Linked DNA regions of Homo sapiens: region 1 is linked to region 2. The links are contacts of gene promoters, found by promoter capture Hi-C in blood cells and fetal thymus (Javierre and others, 2016). All regions are on one chromosome and are shown on one strand. The core of a region is centred on a gene start or on the middle of the fragment in contact, and the rest is flanking DNA. Distances in the headings are between cores, read along the strand shown.

Region 1 (5,568 bases), core at 2,696-5,195, 2.8 Mb before region 2:
TTCCAACTCCCTTAACGGCCCCCCAGTTTGTGTACTCCACGTAGTCCGGGGTTTGGAGTTGTTGTTTTTTTTTTTTTTTTTTAGTTATAACTTACACGTAGTAAGGTGCATAAATCTTAAAGTGTGCAGCGTGATGAATTTTTTTAATATGTATATACACATAAAGCTACCACCCAGATCAACATATAGACCATTTCTACCACCTCCGAAGGTTTCCTTATACTGTCTCCCACTGCTACCAGTTGATAACCCCCTGAAGGTGACCACTATTTTTTATTTCCTCTTATCATTGAAGTTATTTTTTGCCTATTTGTCAAAACTTTTATACAAATGTAATCATGCAGTATTTACATTTTTGTGTCTGGCCTCTTTTGCTCATGTTTTTGTATTATGTCATATAACCTACATTTTAAATCATACCATCACGTAGCTATTCTCCAAAATTAGTGGAAATCAAATCAAACCACAGTTTAAGAACAATTTGGGAACAAACAAAAAGAAACTCTAGTTTATGAATATGAATATTTCACGAATATGAAAGATGATATGAAACTGATAGCTGCGAACTTATTAGTAGGCTCAAACATGAAATAGCACCATTTGGGGTGGGTCGTTAGATTAGCACTGAAAATTAGTTTGAAAAATACTGTCAGCCAGATGCGGTGGCTCACACCTGTAGTCCCAGCACTTTGGGAGGCTTAGGAGGGTGGATCACTTGGGCCCAGGAGTTCGAGACCAGCCTGGGCAACATGGTGAAAAACTGTCTCTACTAAAAATACAAAAAACAAGCTGGGCATGGTGGTGTGAGTACTAGGCTGAGATGGGAGAATCACCTAAGCCTGGGAAGTCAAGGCTGTAGTGAGCCAAGATCATGCCACTGTCCACCAGCCTGGGCAACAGGAGTGAGACTCTATCTCAAAAAAAAAAAAATTGGCACTTAATATTTATACACACATTCTCTTGTGCTTTAACATGTATTTTGACTTCTGTAACTATCTTGTCTGTCTAATCCCAAAGCTATCTCACTGTCTGTCTCACACTCACTGAGGGTGATGTTTCAGGAGCCACTGGACAGAATCTTCTGCGGCAAACCTGAGAAAGAAAACTGAAATTACTGCTTTGAAGTGACGGGTTACTCAGAAATACTGAAATACATATTCTATAAAATGTAAACTTTTGATTTTGACTCTAATAAAATGTTAAGCCTTTGAATTATTTGTTTAATTATCATGAAACATGTCATTATATTTATAATGTAACTATAAACATCTAGTGTAACTATGTATGTCTGCTTAGCCAACTCCTTTCCTGACCTCCAGCCCCCATTTGTCCAACAGCCCAAGACGTATTAATGTGAACAAGTCATAGCAACCTGAAACATGGCCAGTTTTGTCATGTTATTTATTTATTTATTTTTGAGATGGAGTCTCTCTCTGTCGCCCAGGCTGGAGCGCAGTGGCTCAATCTTGGCTCACTGCAACCTCTGCTTTCCAGATTCCAGCAATTCTCCTGTCTCAGCCTCCCAAGTAGCTGGGATTACAGGTGCCCGCCATCACGCCCGGCTAATTTTTGTATTTTTATTAGAGATAGGATTTCACCATGTTGGCCAGGCTGGTCTCAAACTCCCGACCTCAGGTGATCTGCCCGCCTCAGCCTCCCAAAGTGCTGGGATTACAGGCTTGAGCCACCACACCCAGCCACCAGTTTTGTCACTTCAATGCTGTATATGGGTGAAGGGCAATCCCAGCCACCTGATCACCCAAGTCAGACACCTAGGAGCCAATCTAAACAACTGCTTTTCCCTCTCCCTTCACATCCAATCCCCACATCCTATCAATCCTATCCAAACATCCTGTCAATCCTCTCTTAAGTATTTCTTAGTCCTTTGCCTTTCTATTTTTACCAACCTGGAGTTAATTCTAACTCTCGCTATTGCTTACTTGTATAATTATCTGTAATCCTACAACTAGTCTTCTAATGGATCACCTGCATCTATTCTTCCTCTGCTTGAATCTAGCAGATTCTTTGAACATGCTCAATAAATATTTGTTGAGTACCTACTGAAGAAGTTCTGTAGCTGGCTCCAGAGACCTGAGGATGAATAAGATAGTTCCTGCCACTGAGGAGCTTACTGTCTAGTTGAGGGAGACAGCGAGTACATGAAAAGGGCTTTAGCATTAGACAAATCTTGGTTCAAACTATCAGTTCTGCTACTTACTGGCTGTATGACTTTGGTTCAGTTGCTTAATCTCCCTGAGCCTTGTTTCTTCATCTATAAAATGAGGACATTAATGTTCACTTTCCACAGTTGTTTTAAGAATTGGAAAAATATGCAAATATCTGGCACACAATCAGTGCACAACAGATAGTGTCTAGTATTAATTTAGCTATACACTTGTAAGAGTCAGTGTCTTTTTTCATAGAGATTAGAATCAGTTTTTTCTAATTTAGTAATTTTACCTTGTGAGATTCACCATCTATTGCAGCAGATATAATATGTTCCCATTAATGTTAACTATATTTCTCTAACTCAAAAAGGCAATTTTATAATTAAAAACATGGACTCTGTAAATCAAACAGACCTACATTTAAATAATCTTAGTCACCTCTGAGCTGTGTGATTGGGCTAAGTCACTTAATTTTCCTCAAGTCGCTGAACCCTTTGAAACCTCAGTTTCTTCATCTGTAAATTGGTTAACATGCAGCTGTTTCAAAGAGTTGGTAAACATTAGCACAGTGTCTGGTCCATGTGAAGCAGCTGGTAAGCGTTCAGAGAAAGGCTGTTCACTGAAATGATTGTTTCCTTCCAGATGGCAAAGGTTCAGTGGGTATTTATTCTCTATACTCTTCTGTTGCTTTTTTTTCCCCCAGGCACATGTAATTTTTATAAAAACTCTAATAAAGTGTTGTTAAATTTTACCTTCTGAATTCAAGAGTTCTGGTTTCATCTTTCCAGTACCACATCCCTAATCGTAATCCCAACTGCTGTAAAACGAAATGATTGCAGCAAAAATAATTAAAAGCTCAATTTACAATCCATATGCCACAATAAACCTTTAACAATAATTCCTACTTACTAACACATCTTTTAAGTAATAAGAAGGAAACAAAAAACAATGGTTCCTACTAGTCCCTCTTTACACTTTCAGTAAGAGTGTAGAATCCTAAAGCGTTAAACTTGAAGCTAGGATTTTATCGCTTTGATTGATTTTAGGTGTGGCTTCAGTAGAACGGCAGGAAGGAGGGAGAGGGAGAAAGGAAGGGAGGAAAGTAGGAAAAGAGGAAAGAAGCAGCGGAGGAAGGGAAGGGCGAAAGATAGGAAGGAAATTGGGACTACATATAGCTCATCATAGCAATCTACCAATTAATTGAAATTCAGACAATAAACTGATACCCAGGACAGCCTCAGCTGTCTGGTTCTGGAGACTTCCGGGCTCCAACACTGAGCCTGCCCTTTACAGGCAGTGGCAAAAAGTTAAGTACACCCTTTTCACCGTGGAAGCTAGCACCCACCAGCCTTTCTATCCAGAGCGGGGCTGCTTCCCCCGCAGTAGGTCTCCCTATTTTGCAACCAACCAATTAGAGGTGGTGAGGTGGGATTTCGTAAATATCTAACTACCTGCGCAGGGAGCCAGAATTCAATTCTGACCATCTGTCAAATACACCAGAGTTTTTTTTTTTTCTAGGCAAATATGGCCAGGTGTCTTTGAGAACCGCCAGCCCGGGGCGAAGGCGACGACCCGCCTCTGGAGGAGGGCGAGGGGCGCGGCGCCGGTTGGGGGCAGCAGGGCCCGCCTTGCGCCCAGCCCGGGTATGGGGGCGACCAAGGCTGCACTTACATCCATCAAGTAAGGGGTCTGCCCACCTAACCGCTTCCTCCTCGCATAAAACTCGGGCACCCGGTACATGGCCTCGCCCTGGAAGCCATACGGCGTCGCCGAGGATACCGCCCGCAGGCGCCTGCACACGGCTGCCCGGGGCGCGGAGCGGGGCGGGGCGTCGCTTCCGTCCTAGGCCGCGCGGGCTGCGGCCGCACCCAGGCTTCTCCAGCGATTTCTAAAGCCCAGCCTGGTGCCCCGTTTCCCAGTCTTAAAAGCCGTGGCGACGTATTGGCCTATCCATTGTAAAGCCGCCCAGGGCATAATTCTTCATGGCATTCCAACCTTGAACTTCATGAAGTTATTCACTTTACTGTTTTAATTGGAGTAACTACATTCAGTCCTATAGGGAAGAAAGATCCATTTCTTCCTAACTTTCATGATTAGCACTATTATTAAGTTCAAATCCAGGATGAACCTAGGTTGATGGGGAGAGCAGGGTTGAGGTGGGGAAGCAGGGTAGCCTCGTGGAAGAGAACATGGGTACGGAAATAAGGTTTTCATAACAGTTGTGCTGCTTAACAAGCTGTGGAATCTAGGACAAGACTATTCTGATCTTTCTTCTGAAAACACCAAATCAGGGGTTATGTGGATTTTTGGAGTGGTGTGTGTAAAGCACCAGTCTTAAGTACTCAAAATTAGTGTTGCTCAAAAACAAAGAAACTTGCTTAGTGTCAATGGGTATTCAATTGATATTTTTACATTTACACTTTTCAAATCATGTGTCTTGTAATTCCTTCTTGCAACGGAGTTGATAATGCTGATTCTGGCTGATTTTTTTCCTCCCAGCTCTAAGTGAGCAATGCTAGATGATGCAACATGATTGGGAATGCCTAGTATATTCTTTTGTATCACCACAGCTTAATTGGTATGAGAGGCTCATAAGTAGTGGATATATACTCCCATTAACTTTTAAGTTATGTCAGTAGTCATCCCACTGCTTCTTCTATTCCCACCCTCCCAGTCTCACTACTTGGTAATACACAATCACTGGCTACAGTGATTAAATAGTAATCATCTAGATTCATGTTCTGCTCACTTGAGTCCATTCTGGCAGCTGTTCAGTTGGTCCAGGTATATGGAAACCCACTTATATACTGGCCGCAGGCAAGGCTTTCTTACTACAAGATGACACGCTTGAAAAGGAGACTATCCCATATGCCAAGAGCTTTTCACCAAGTAGCGAACATAACTTGGGGTGGACAGGACAGGGAAATAATGAGGTAAAGCTCAAGAAAAGATGCAGACAGACCAAGGAATCTGGATGGCATCCAATCACTACATAATCATTACCGGGAAGACCACACTAGTGGTCAGTAAACCTCTTCAGTTCATCCCAATAATGTGTGGAGAAGTGCTGATAGAAAACTTAAGATCTATATATCTTATCACAGAATAAACTTAGGCTGTCTAATGTACAAAACTTAGGTAAAAATAAAAGTTGAGAGCCCAAAACAATAACTACTTAAAAATTAAAGGAGAAGTTATTTCGCATGTGATAGAGGGACATAATATTTAAAGGAAAGTTTCAGTAACTCTGAAGGGACAATCTTATACTTCTCTATCACTTTACCCCAAACAAAAGGAGGAAGAAAAGATTGTTTTTACATCTCTTAATCATTACAGTACTTATTTTAAAAAGTGACCCACCGATTTCCTAAGGTACATTTTTCACCAGTTAGGTTTCTTT
Region 2 (5,779 bases), core at 2,601-5,100:
AGAAAGGTAAAAACACTTTTAAATAAGGAAGAAGAACAGGCTATGACTTAATGCTTGCTTGGACCAGTATAAGCACGCCAGGGCAAATATTTAGGCTAAATTGTGGGAGCTAAGAACATAAAATACACTGATTTCTTTATTACAGCTAGCAGATATTTAAGAATGTTAGCATAGGTCTTTGAATAAATTTTGCTTCTAAGATAAGTTACTATTTAGTCTTAATTAGATGGGGAGGAAACTCTTTGAAGCAGAACCTCTACTTTACTTTTTACCTAACGAACATTTTCTCCAATACTCTCAGGGATTTGCACTAAATCTCCTCTGTCCTTGCGAAGCCGAGGCGAAAAAGATAGAGAAACAGCACAAAGTAACCCGCACTCCTAATTGTCCAGAGCACTGCAAGCTCATCAGAAGAAAGGAGGAGGAAGGGAGAAGAGCATACTCCAGCATACAACCAAAAGCTTTGTCCAAACATCCAAGAGAGCAACAAGGCTTTGTTGGCAATCAATCAATGAAATAACATAGGAAATGTACATGAAAGGAAAGTATCTTGGGCACCCAAGATCACTAAGGAAAACTCAAGCTGGAAACTGCTTAGGGCAAACCTCTCCCATTCTATTCAAAGTGACTTCTCGGCTCACTGAGATAGATGCATATCTGATTTGCCTCCTTTGGAAAAGCTAATCAGAAACTCAAAAGAACGCAAGCATTTGTGTATCACCAATCTGTGACCTGAAAGCTCCCTCCCCACTTCCAGTCTTCCTGCCTTTGCTTCAAGTTGTCCCGCCTTTCCAGAACGAACCAACGTACTTCTTGCATATATTGATTGATGTCTCATGTCTCCCTAAATGTACAAAACCAAGCTGTGCCCTGACCACCTTGGGCGCATGTCAACACGACTTCCTGAGGCTGTGTCACGGGTGCGTCCTCAACCTTGGCAAAATAACCTTTCTAAATTAACTGAGACGTGTCTCAAATTTTCGAGGTTCACATATATTTTCTGTGGATATAAACAGCATAATGAATAAACTATCTGAAACTGTTCTGCTGTGCTAAGTTAACAAAAAATTTTAAAAAACAAGGCCTTAAAAAAGTCAATGTAACAGTCTTCTTACCACTTTGGATAAAACAATGAAGCCACATTTGTGCATATTATAGGTTTCTATGTAAGACCTGAAATTAGTAGATAAAAAATGCCAGATTTTAAATAAAACATTAGCTAAAATAAATGTCTCAAAGTGTTGATGCGAGTGACTAATACGCTATACAAATATAAATATGTAGAACTTTTACTTTAAAACCAGCAACAAACAATAAAGACATTTGCCCTGCAGCCATAAACACGGGCTCTATTATATCTGATTACAATGCAGGGGTGGAAGGGAAGGGGGTAGTAGGAGGACATTTTGGGTCTTCAAATAATAAATATAGGAAAAGAATACAAAATGCCTACTCTAGTTACGGTAACCAAAGTAATTTCTCAAGAAAATCCACCACTCTAGTGATTCCTGCTTCTTTTATCATTTTAGGTTCTCCCTACTAGAAAATGTAAATGTTACATTTTTAGCTTTTTCCTTAAATGCATTTTTCCCCCCAAGAAGTGGTACAGTGGAATATTAACGGATTTTAGAAACAGGCAGATACATAGTTTCCAACATCTGCTCTACAATCCACTATCTTTGTAATGGTGGAGAAATTACTTAACCTCTTTAAGCCTTAATTTCCTCATCTATAAAACAAGGATAATTATACCTGCTTTTTATAACTGTCTTATGCAATAAATAAAGCTATAAATAAATGGCATGTAGTAGCCATTTAAAAAAAAAAGTCTCTCTCCTTTTATTAACTGTACAACAAACAGCTCTTCATCCTCCATTCCTTGCAATTTAAAAAACTACAAAGGTAATTTGCTTACACTGACAGAGAGAAAATGAGTTTTTACATTTTGTTCAGAAAAAGTTTTAATCATAAGGTTTAACTCATTCAGAAAATCAGTTATTTCGCCTTTTTAATATTATATGTACTATGGTAATAAAAATAGATTCATCCAGTCACTGTCCTCACAGAGGTCAGTCTAGTCAAAGGAAAATTTTAAAACGGTAGTAATAATGAACATTTGACCAGCCTGGCCAACATGGTGAAATCCCGTCTCTACTAAAAATACAAAAATTAGCCAGGCTTGGTGGCACAAGCCGTAGTCCCAGCTACTCGGGAGGCTGAGGCAGGAGAATCTCTTGAACCCGGGAGGTGGAGGTTGCAGTGATAGGAGATCGCACCATTACACTCCAGCCTGGGTGACAGAGCAAGACTATGTCTCAAGAAAAAAAAATAATAATAATGAACATTTATTGAGCACTTAGAATGTATTTCTGATATATCAGCTCATTTAATCTTCACAACTACTATGAGGTTTATCATTGCCTCTATTTTACAGATATGGAAACTCAAGTAACTTGCCCCAAGTCATAGCGGACCCTGCAATCAAATGCAGCCAATTGGGTTCCATAACCTATGCCCTTAACAATCCCACACTGCCTTTTCAACTATACCATTACAACAAAATGTGGAAAGCGGTGACATAAAATAAAAACAGGGTGCTATGCGGGGAAAAAACATGAACAGCGTACTCAGTCTAGAAGAGCAAAAAAGACTTCCCCCGAGGATGTCATTTGAGCTTAACCCTGAGTGAAGAATAAGGTGGACAAAACAAGAGAGTTGCGGTGGAAACTCCAGGATTAGGAAAAGCCTGTAGAGGGCCCAAAGAAAAAAAAAAAAAAAAAAAAGCAGCTGCTGGAGCAAGAAAGTGAGTGCATGGAGGGGACTGGCAGGCGAAGCTGGAGAGATAGGCAAAGGCCAGTGAGGAATGGTCTTGGCAAGTCAGAGAATTCAAGCGTTATCCCAAAGGCAATGGGCACCACTACAGAGTAATAAGTCGGGGAGTGACATAATCAAATTTGCACTTTTGAAAAACAACTTTTGGGCCGGGCGCGGTGGCTCACTCCTGTAATCCTAGCGCTTTGGGAGGCCGAGGCGGGCGGGTCACGAGATCAGGAGTTCGAGGCCAGTCTGGCCAACATAGTAAAACCCCGTCTCTACTAAAAATACAAAAAATTAACCGGGCGTGGTGCCGGGCACCTGTAATCCCAGCTACTCCGGAGGTTGAGGCAAGAGAATCACTTGAACCTGAGAGGCGAAGGGTTGCACTGAGCCGCGAACGCGCCATTGCACTCCAGCCTGGGCGACAAAAGGAGACTCCGTCTCAAAAAAAAAAAAAAAAAAAAAAAAAAAGACAACTTTGGTTGTTGGAGGAAAAATTAATTCAATCTTGAAGGGTTTTGTCTTTGCTTGTGTGTTTTTAAACATCAGGTCCTAGAACAAGACTGGGGAAGGGCAAATGATAGTGGCCTGGCTCAGGGTGGAGATGGGAGAGAGGAGTTTAGAAGGGAGGCCAGGCAGAGACGCATATTTGGGAGGAGGCCGCAACAACCATCAGGGCACAATGAAATAGAGCAGGGAAAGCGCGTTGCCTGAGCACAGGGGAAGGTCCAGGAGTCATGGAGGCAACCTTCGGTGACTGCCGCTCTTCTCAGCCCTTCACAAGTGCAATATCGCCGGGAAGGAGGCAACTTTCTACACCACCTGCGGGCAGGGAGAGGCGGGTGGTGGACAAGAAACACCCACCAGAAGATAGTCCCGAACTTCATGTTTCTCCAGAGCTCCGTGAAGTCCTCGAAGCGTACACTGTCCGTCTCCTGGAAGCGGCTGAGCAGCGCCTCGCAGTCGGTCTGCAGGCCGGGAGGAGTCCCCATGGCACCCGAAGCCCGCACGCCTCCGAAGCCCGCACGCCTCTAACGGACTAGCCAGCGGTGGTCGCCCAGGAAACCAAGCCCGAACGGCCCGCCCCCTACGGCGTGCGCACACGCGCTCCGTGATGCATTATCCGGCACCTTTAGCTCCGCCTTTATCCGGGCTCTTGCCACCGGTCGTGTGCTTACTGCGCGTGCGTGAAAGCGTTCTGATGTTTTACTGGCTGAGATTGCTTTCACCCAGAGTGCTGAGATCCACCCTTCTTTGGAAGAGGTTTACGTCTAAAGTGTTGTGTTTGCTCACGAGCGGTTTTAGGTCTTCATTTTCCGCTAGGTTATGTAACTTGACTTTACCCTTACTAGCACTCTCCTTTAAACTGACCCTAGTGTGACATAAGTGAACTTTTGAGCTAGGAAAGAACAGTCCCAACCCCAACCCCACTCCCACTTGGGAAGAGAAGCTAAAGAAGGCTTGCTAGGAAACAAACTGCACTCATTCTCCTTCTGGTCATCGAGAACCCTAATACTCTGTACCCACATAATACGATGCTTAATGTGCGGCCCTCTCTTTGTAGCCCTGGCATTCTGCAACCACTCTTGAAAAGAAGAGCTGCATTTCATACCCTCTTGTAAACAGCCCTCCTCCTGCCCTGCCACGCATTCACCCCTGTGCTACATAGCACTTAGCAGAAAATACCTACTTGTTATATTCTTGTTATATTATTATTTGGATGAATTGCCTTTTTGTGTACACGCTGCCACCTAGCTTCCTTCCTCCAGGAGCTAGCTATGGAGTAACATTTTGAACTTTAGATCATTTCTCTGATTGAAAGGTAAGCTATCATTCTTTAGAAGAGGTATCCTGATATAATAGAAAAACATTGGGCTTTCTGTGTGTAAATGGAGTGTCAACTCACTTTACTTTTCTGATCCTTGACCTGTTTTTGTTTGTTTGTTTGTTTGTTTGGATTTGTTTGTTTTTTGTTTTGAGACGGAGTTTCGCTCTTGTTGCCCAGGCCGGAGTTCAGTGGCGCGGTCTCGGTTCACTGCAACTTCCGCCTCCCGAGTTCAAGCGATTCTCCTGCCTCAGCCTCCCGAGTAGCTGGGATTACAGGCATGCACCACTCCAACCGGATTTTGTTTTGTTTTGTTTTGTTTGTATTTTTAGTAGAGACAGGGTTTCACCATGTTGGCCAGGCTGGTCTCGAACTGCTAACCTCAGGTGATCCGCTCCCCTCGGCCTCCCAAAGTGTTGGGATTACAGACGTGAGCCACTGCACCCTGCCCTCTTGACCTGTTTTTTAAATGTTATGTAATATTTTATGTCACAGAAAAATTTATGCGATGTGTGAGATAAAAAGCATAGCAGTTAAACACCTGTACACCTTTCACCTGTGTAGGAACCAGAACATTACCAACGCCTTCACATCAATCTGCGATTTCCTCCTCTGACCTATTCCTTTGACTGTACCCTACTTTAATCACAGCTACTGGTTGGGCACGGTGGCTCACGCCTGAAATCCCAACACTTTGGGAGACAAAAGCAAGAGGATTGCTTAAGCACAAGAGTTGGAGACCAGCCTGGGAAACATGGTGAAAATTAGCCGGGCATGGTGGTGCACACCTGTAGTCCCAGCTACTCGGGAGGCTGAGGTGGGAGGATCATTTGAGCCTGGGAGATGGTGGTTACAGGAGACAGAGGTTGCAGTGGTGAGCCGAGATCGTGCCACTGCACTCCATCCTGGGCTACGGAGTGAGACCGAATCTCAAAAAATAAATAAATAACTACCTTGAATTTTGTTTCTCTTTCTCATGTATATATTTTATCACATATGTATGTATATTTAAACGGTATATTTTTTAGTTGTGGTTGGTTTTGAGTTTTATGAAAATGGTATTGCAACTGGCTGGGCGCAGTGGCTCACGCCTGTAATCCCAGCAATTTGGGAGGCTGAGGTGGGTGGATCACCAGG

What was found. Contacts are between HindIII fragments. The CHiCAGO score rates a contact against its expected background, and 5 or more counts as called.
Region 1: the fragment with the promoter of PPP1R36 here is called in contact with the fragment with the promoter of SNAPC1 in region 2 in 1 of 17 cell types (neutrophils); the score reaches 5.7 in neutrophils.

The regions. Positions count from the first base shown.
Region 1 is chr14:64,548,338-64,553,905 of GRCh38, reverse strand. It overlaps PPP1R36 (protein phosphatase 1 regulatory subunit 36), which reads right to left and starts at 3,945. Exons shown (of 12, transcript NM_172365.3): 1 at 3,840-3,945; 2 at 2,921-2,985; 3 at 1,045-1,092. The coding sequence starts at 3,908. RefSeq lists a silencer at 3,790-4,079. The HindIII fragment of the contact is 10,629 bases long and covers 1-5,568 here.
Region 2 is chr14:61,760,491-61,766,269 of GRCh38, reverse strand. It overlaps SNAPC1 (small nuclear RNA activating complex polypeptide 1), which reads right to left and starts at 3,850. Exons shown (of 10, transcript NM_003082.4): 1 at 3,682-3,850. The coding sequence starts at 3,809. RefSeq lists enhancers at 2,880-3,623, 3,624-4,367, 4,435-4,524, 4,368-5,111, 5,112-5,779. The HindIII fragment of the contact is 7,963 bases long and covers 464-5,779 here.